Regions from separate parts of the Homo sapiens genome. Here all the other regions are linked to region 2. Evidence: promoter capture Hi-C in 16 types of primary human blood cells and fetal thymus (Javierre and others, 2016). All regions are on one chromosome and are shown on one strand. The core of a region is centred on a gene start or on the middle of the fragment in contact, and the rest is flanking DNA. Distances in the headings are between cores, read along the strand shown. Region 1 overlaps CCDC112 (coiled-coil domain containing 112). Region 2 holds the start of CDO1 (cysteine dioxygenase type 1). Region 3 overlaps PGGT1B (protein geranylgeranyltransferase type I subunit beta).

Region 1 (2,700 bases), core at 70-2,569, 540 kb after region 2:
TTGAGCTCAGGAGTTCAAGACCAGCCTGGGCAACATGGCAAAACCCTATATCTATCAAAAAAAAAAATTAGCTGGGCATGGTGGTTGTGTGCCCCTGTAGTCCCAGCTACTCAGGAGACTGAGGTTGGAGGATTGCTTGAGCCAGGGAGGTCAAGGCTGCAGTGAGCTGAGATGGCACCATGGCACTCCAGCCTGGGTGACAGAGCCAGACCCTGTCTCAAAAAAAAAAAGGTAATTTGAGAATTGATTTCTTTGCCCAATCAAAAAAGTTTCTCAGTAGTGTTTTATTTTATTTTTGTTTTCTCTTAGGGTGCAAACTAACAATGAGAACTCCTTACTGTTAGACTAAATTCAAGGGGCAAAGATGTGCTGAAAGAAGCCTGAAGTAAATGTAGACAATAGTCATTAAATACCCGAAATTTCCTGTCTTTGTAGATGGTTAGTCTCTCGAAGTTTTAGTTTTATTAATAATATTAATAACTGGCATTTCCATAGTATACTTGTACTGTACAGAGATCTCCCACATATATTATCTCATTTGATGTGAATAATAGCCCTATTAGATAGTGGAGAGCTGTTATTATTCACATTTTAGTGATGAGGAGGTTCATACCTGGAGAGGTTAACCATCTTGGCTAAGGTTACAAAATTAATAGTATCTACTATTGAAAGCAGTCATCAGCAGTGATGGCCATTTTCAGGCTCCAGTGAGATTGAGTTGGAATCAATAGTCAAAAGCTTATGCATTTTCAAAGCAAATGTATATCCACATTTTCTTAAATTATCATTTTATGATTTACATAGCAGTTCAAATTATAGTTGTGTTTGATTGAAATTAACTCTTCTAGCTATTATTTTGACTAATGTTTTGATTCCTTAGCCTTATTAACCAAAGTAATTATTTTTATTCCATAGATGAATTAATCCAAATATAAAATACGGATTATTGAGTGTCTTCATATTTTAAACTATTAAAAATATATTTAGATCATATTTATACTATTTGTTTCTTTTCCTAAAGAGTAATTAACATGGAAAAAGATAAACACAGTCATTTCTACAACCAAAAAAGTGACTTCAGAATTGAGCATAGTATGCTAGAAGAATTGGAAAATAAATTGATTCACAGCAGGAAAACAGAAAGTAAGTTGAGTTTGTGATGAACTAAAAACTGTTGAGCGATATAAAGTTGTAGTTTTACCCTGTGCTTTGTCTTTGTGCATTGACTGTATTGTGTTCTCTATCAATAGAGTCAGTTCTCTATTGACTGTGTTATATTCTCTGTATTTTAGTTGGTAAAATTTGTCTTTTAGGGACATGTTTATTCTTTCGGGTCACTATTTAGTCATACTAACTGGATTGTTTTCTGTTGTATATTTTTTCCAATATAACAAGAAAGAGAGGATTTGGGGGATTTTTTTGGTTGACACACCACCAAATTCTATTAAAATTTCTTAAAAGCAGAGTGATTTCTGGGCTGTCTGATGTTAGCTCATTACCCTGGCATTGTTGACTGAGCCCTGGACTCAGTAAGCATCAACAGATTCAAAGCTATAATTAGCAGTTGTGTGAAGTGATCAAGTCAGATAATTGCATAAACCTGAGTTTCCTTGTCTACATTCTAAAACTTGTCATTTCTACCTCAGGAGAGCCGTACTATGCATCTGATGAGATAATATATAAAAATGTACCTTATAGATAGATTGTACATGACTATGTTCTTTTGTTTGTTATGAATATTAATCATTGTCAATAGTGTACTGAATGTTACCCTTAAAGAATTTGAGAATATTTGTTTCATTGTAGCGTTAGATTCTGTATGTTGTAAAATCTTTATAATAAAAAAGCTGCTTAGCATTTCTTAAAGGAAAAATAATGGTTATCAAATAACTAAGCTTTATAAAATATTAAGACTTACTATGTAGAGATGAGACTGCTCATGATACTCCCTTGTCATCAATTAAAGTAAATTCTTAGTGATTTTTTTCTTTCAAAATACAAGGTTGCACTATTTTTTAAAAGAAAAGATTACACTACTTTAAAAAGTGATTCTTTGTCAAGCAGTGGCAGGAATCATTTTCCTTCTTTGATACATTGAAAAACCGAGACACCCCTGATTCAATATTTCTTTATTTCCCTCAGTTCTTTTGTAGACAACTGGGAGGCTGATTTTTCTATGTCTCAGTAATGCCAATAAGTAAAATTTTGTGCAAATTTTAGGTCACTTGATTTTCCCTTTATTATGGCAACTTTATTTGTACCAATCTATTTCACTTTGTTCTATAGTTTTGCTTATTTTTTTAAGTTATTTTTATAAGTTTTGCTCTTATAAAGTGTAGTGTTACTACACTTTATGTTTTTCCTGTCTAGGAGAGTAAAGAATGCTTGCCTTAGTGTAGAGAAGTTTTCCCTTCATATATTACAGCTGAGCAGTAGAAATACCTATTCCTTACCTCCAATAGCATACCTCAATTTTAGTCTGCATTTATGTCATATTGTACTTAAATGATTTGTCTATCTATCCAAATGAATAAATAAAATAAAAAGATTATCAGCCTTGTAGTGATATTTTGGTAGCTGATCAAACTAAGGCTAAAATGAAGCAACAAAAAACACTTTCCTAATTACTTTACTAGAGAGGTTTCATGACCTAAAGTTCAACAGTAAGACCCTACAAAGTAAATTACAAAAAGTTTCTGC
Region 2 (2,700 bases), core at 39-2,538:
ACAAAATACTTTGTTAATTCACTACCCCGCAGCAACACACATCACCAAGGCTGGCTTCTGGAATGCTTTCTACTTGTAGCCATTTTTGAACAATAGGTGATTCCGCTTTTAACAACACTGTTAGAATATAATGTAGCGAGTTTTACCAGAGATGTTTAAGACTACCTGGCACAAGTAAATTTCATTGTATACATGTATATACACGAGGGAGGGTGATCATAGTCTAGAAAAAAACAGGTCTTCAGAAGTCTAGAACTTTAATAACCTTAAATCCAAATTATTCCCTGCGTCCATCCATAATGAGAAGGAAGAAATCTACACTTGCATTTCTTCCACCTTTCACATCTTTCTCATTTAAATCCTACTGTACTTGATTTGTGTTGTTCCCAACGTACTAGGTGCTATGCATGACGTAGAAACGTGTTTCCTTATATGTATGTACTAGCAGGCTCCTTCAAGCACATGCCTAAGGTTGAAAGATTCAAATATAATTATAGCCTCTTAAATTATTGCGTCAGAGCCCGCCCTATCCCCTCAGAAAAAGCCCCCTTTTACACCATCAAATGAAATATCAGGTTATTTGCACTGGATATTTTTTAAAAGAAAATATTTGATTTTAAAATCAAAGAGTTCTTGGTTTTCCATCATTTCACTAATTGTCTTACTAGAGACCCGAGTCTCCTTTGTCAAAATATATTTCAGTACGCATTTTAAAAAATATGTGTGTGTGTATACTTAAATATATATATATATAAAGTCTTGGACTTATTTTCACCTAGCCTGGGGCATATCGTGGATAGTTTCAATCGACAAAACAGGCACTCTCTGGCCTAGGAGTGGAATCCATCCTCAATTTTCGCAGGCTCCTCACAATTCTCTATTTGGAAGAAGTGTCCCTCTCCTTCCCTTTTCTTTTCCTCCTTTACTCAGCGTCAGTCCCCGCAGCCATCTCCTCCGACCCTTTTTGTCTACGTCCCAGCGTCGCGAACCACAGCGGCGGAGGTGGAGCGGGGAGAGGCGTTAGGCCGGGCGGCTAAAACGCGCCGTTAAAGTGGGGGAGAGATTGCGCGGAGCCCACGCGATCCCTGGGACGCCGGAGACAACGGGGCTCTTGGGAAGGCGCGGAGCCCGGGGAAGCCGGGGATGTGCGCGTGAGCCGTGCCCGCAGGGTCTCCCCGCCTCCGCCACCTTTCTTGGGTGGCTCTCCGCCTCGTCCTCCCTCCGAGGGCCGTTGGTACATTCCTAGTGACTCCAAGCGCTTAAAAGGGGCCCGGGAGGATGAACCCCACAGATCTGAACCTGATTTGTGTGTGCACCGCGTCTCCAGCGATCCCGGATCCACTGCGCTGCCAGGGGCCTGGGGGTGGGTCTCTTGCTGTCTCTGCGACGACATCCTTACGTTTCGGCACTCTAATGCTGGGTTTGTGCGTGTGTGTCTGCTTAGCGGTCTAGCGGGCTGTTAGGCTCCCTCGCCCCCAGCTCCTTGGCTCGCTCAGCTCCTCCACCGCAGCCCAGCAGTGAGACGCGCGCGCAGCCAGCTCCCCACGAGATGGAACAGACCGAAGTGCTGAAGCCACGGACCCTGGCTGATCTGATCCGCATCCTGCACCAGCTCTTTGCCGGCGATGAGGTCAATGTAGAGGAGGTGCAGGCCATCATGGAAGCCTACGAGAGCGACCCCACCGAGTGGGCAATGTACGCCAAGTTCGACCAGTACAGGTGAGCGCGCTGCAGCTTCAATGCCAGGCGGCGCCCACTCGCCCCGTCTGAGGAGGAATGGACGTGGGGGACGCAGCCCAAAGTGACTGGCTCGGGAAGCTCGGGCCGCGCTGCGTCCGCCGCTCGCCCCCTCGCTGGCCAGCCGCGGGGCTGGCACGACTCGCTTGGGGCTCCGCGGCCACAGCGCAGGCGGAAGGTGGATCCTACTGGCCTTGCTGACCTCCGGCCGGGAACGGCGGACAGGCGCCGGGAAGGGAGGCCACCGCGCGTCTGCGAGATTTTCTGTTCTCTTCTCTCCCGCAAACCCCTCTGCTTCTAAACCACCAGTCCTCCTGCCCCTGGCCTCGGGAGCAATGCCCACACTCCCAAGCCATCGTTAACCCCGGGCGCGGAGATGCGGAGAGACCGCACTCAGGTTCGGGCCCTCCTGACACCTTAAGGAACCGTCTGGCCGGACTAGCAGAGGGTGCTCCCAGGGGAGCACTACATCAGCCATCGGGAGAAGTGTGTGATGTTGAAGAAGACAAGTCACCCGCGTCAGTTCTCCATCACTGCGCCTTCGGTCGCCTGCAACCGGGCACCTTATAGCAAGCATTTTTACTCATGTAAAATAGCGTCTTGTGGCCGTCAGCTGCCACTACGGAATTTCTGCTGTTCCCTTTCCCAAACCAATTTAACTAACTTCCCCGACTGTGGGTTTATTCAAATCCACTGCCAAGTTTCGCAGATTAAATATTCGACCGTCGTTTTTTTCAGCCCCCAAATGATCTGATTTATCTTATCCTTGCTTCTGACGATCTGTAATGTAAATTAAAGACCCCTACTTCCCAGATGTACTTGAGTGAGGTGCCCTGGTAAGCTGGCTTTTTTGCAGCCCCGGCTTGGTGATTAAGTCGAATCTCTCTACCAATCCTCCGGGGCCAGAGGTAAAATTTAATCACCCCGAAGTGTGAGAGGTTCTACTTTTTCTGAGCAGTTAGT
Region 3 (2,700 bases), core at 123-2,622, 560 kb after region 2:
GTAGTATTGCAGGTCCTTTATTAGTTCAGTAAATATTTGAGTGCATACAAACAAAGTGGACCTTCTCTCATGAGACATAATTACCACCAAGGGCAGTGATTTTCACACTTTGTTGCTATTATGTAGAGGTTTTTCCCATGTCTAAAGGTTTATTGTGTTTGGAGAAGCACATTCCTCTGGGGAAAATGGTTACAACCAAGAGTCTATAGAAAAGGCCTGTAGTGTTATAGACTGTGATTAGATCCTAAAGTCGTTGTTACTCTTGTCCCTCCAAATCATGGCAAAGACCAAGGATAATGGCTTCCATTTATTGCGTGCTTATTGTGAGTAGGTAAGCACAATTACTGTATAAGGTATAGTAATGATTAAAATAATTATTGGAAGCTGATTAGAAAAGTTTAGGTATCCTGCCCAGAGTCATGTGGTCAGTCTAGTGAAATTGGCCAACTTGAAATTTGACTGCAGAGTCTGAGCTTTGAACTACTGTACAACACTGCTTCCCACATAAAGGAGTTCCACTGCCCTTAATATAATCCTGATCTTACCTAGATAAATTACCTCTCTAATTCAAATAGATCTCAGTGTGTTGTTAGGATTAAATTGAGATAATATATGAGAAATGTCCCAGCTCAGTGTCTAATACATGGTAATAGTCTCTCAATAGGATGTTTCCCAAATATTTATTTCTGAAGTGCACCCAAATCTCTGTAGTTTTAGTTTTTGCCCTTAAGCTTTGGTTGGAATTAAATTACTTTCTGATATCTCCTCCTGTTATCTAATGGATGCTGCTAGTCTTTTTCCACCAGGGATCAGAGCGATAATTTGCCCTTAAAAAAAAAAAAAAGAGAAGAAATCACTATTTTCTCATCTCTCCTAAAGTTGGTACAGATTGAGCATCCCTAATCCAAAAATCTGAGAGACTCCAAAATCAGAAACGGTTTGAGCACTGACATGAAGCCACAAGTGAAAAATTCCACACATAAGTGCTTAACACTAACTTTGTTTCATGCACAAAATTGTTAAACTATTATATAAAATAAGCTTCGTGTGTAAGATGTATATGAAATTTAAATGAATTTCATATTTAGATTTGGGTCCTGTCCCAGTGGGGTATCATCTCATGTATATGCAAATATTCTAAAATCAAAAAAAAATCTGAAATCTGAAACAGTTCTGGTCCCAAGCATTTCAGATAAGGGATACTCAACCTGTAGTACTATTCTAGATAATAGTACTCTAGATGCACAGGAGAGAAGTAAATTTATTACATACAGTGGATACCTCAGGACATTAAGGCTTAACTATTTCTTAGAATCTTCATTGAAAAGATTACAGAATACATCAGGTAGCTCTGCTGTAAAATTTTAGACCAGATAATTTGAAGTGTTAATTTATTACTATTAGTCATATGAATTGTTAGATTATGGAAATGATGTAACAGTACTCAATCAAGCTATACTAGAGACTGCTTCTCAACATGAAAGGAATTATATATAACAAATTCTTTGTGTTCAAAGCCATCGGTAAGATACTGATTTTTATATGAAAGCACAGGTTTAGATTTCTGATTTATAGTGTACAGTTTCAGAGGGGGAAGGTTTTGCTCTATAGTTTTTCATTCTGCCAAAGAATGCTCCTCTCTGGGAAAATAGAGTGTAAGTACATTTGTATTTTTTTAAATGTTTTATATTTCTCAAAGCTTATTATAAATCTTTTCCCAAGGAATCATGTTATTTGTGAACACCTTTGAATTAAGACATTATTCTCATATTCCTCCAGAATTAAATACAAGCTATAATTGATCCTGACAAATTAGTGAAAATTGACATTTTCACATATTTCTAAGTCCTGTACTATTTGTACTGATTAGTTGTAGAGAATCCTTTTTTAAATCTACTTTAGCCTTCAGTTTGGTGATATTCTGGCTTCAGTGGGTCTTGTTTGTGTCAATGGGGTAGGATTGGTTTCTTAACCCCCAAATGTCCCCTTTTGAAAAATTGAAACAAAAGGCTTGACTGATAGTATTAAGTTACAAGAATATGTATATATATATTTTTTGCTTTTGCAAGGTGGAAGTATTGTTTAAATTATTGGAAAATTAGAATGATTTTATTATTTTTCTAGACCAGGAAGACTTCAGACTTAAGTGGTATGATAGTTAAGATGGAATTTTACATTTTTTTCTTTTAGGTTGACAATTGCATTTTTTGCACTCTCCGGGCTGGATATGTTGGATTCCTTAGATGTGGTGAACAAAGATGATATAATAGAGTGGATTTATTCCCTGCAGGTCCTTCCCACAGAAGACAGTGAGTGAGTTTTTAGCATTTTATTTTTAGTGTGACTGGTTGTACCTGACATAACATGTGTTGGACTAGAAAATCTTAGTACTTGTATACTGTTAACATATTTTATTTATCTGTGATTTTGTTGTAATGCAGCATTGCCATTCTGTTGAAATACAGTACTTAACAAATCTGATCATAATCTCAAGAAAACAATTTAGAGTTATCTGGAATTTAATAGAGATTCACAGTTGTGGCACCATACTATGTTGTATACTTCCACTTTGATGACTACTTGTTGATTATTTATAGTCAGTATTTATGTTTGATTAGTTCTGTAGCATTAACTCTGTTTTTCATTCCCAACAATTCTTGTCTTTTCAGTGAAAAACTCTTTGCCATCGAAAAGTTTTCT

What was found. Contacts are between HindIII fragments. The CHiCAGO score rates a contact against its expected background, and 5 or more counts as called.
Region 1: a contact is called between a fragment that was not itself captured here and the fragment with the promoter of CDO1 in region 2, in 2 of 17 cell types (non-activated CD4 T cells and total CD8 T cells). The highest score is 6.2, in non-activated CD4 T cells.
Region 3: a contact is called between a fragment that was not itself captured here and the fragment with the promoter of CDO1 in region 2, in 1 of 17 cell types (total CD8 T cells). The highest score is 5.4, in total CD8 T cells.

What each region holds. Positions count from the first base shown.
Region 1 is chr5:115,278,090-115,280,789 of GRCh38, reverse strand. CCDC112 (coiled-coil domain containing 112) reads left to right here. Exons shown (of 10, transcript NM_001040440.3): 3 at 1,022-1,143. Among named protein-coding and RNA genes, the nearest start is that of PGGT1B, 17 kb to the right of the region's middle. The HindIII fragment of the contact is 1,157 bases long and covers 741-1,897 here.
Region 2 is chr5:115,815,247-115,817,946 of GRCh38, reverse strand. It overlaps CDO1 (cysteine dioxygenase type 1), which reads left to right and starts at 1,288. Exons shown (of 5, transcript NM_001801.3): 1 at 1,288-1,719. The coding sequence starts at 1,550. LOC124901049 (a long non-coding RNA gene) reads right to left here and starts at 859. Exons shown (of 2, transcript XR_007058908.1): 1 at 776-859. The HindIII fragment of the contact is 6,274 bases long and covers 1-2,700 here.
Region 3 is chr5:115,252,746-115,255,445 of GRCh38, reverse strand. It overlaps PGGT1B (protein geranylgeranyltransferase type I subunit beta), which reads left to right. Exons shown (of 9, transcript NM_005023.4): 2 at 2,191-2,309. Among named protein-coding and RNA genes, the nearest start is that of PGGT1B, 8.8 kb to the left of the region's middle. The HindIII fragment of the contact is 658 bases long and covers 1,044-1,701 here.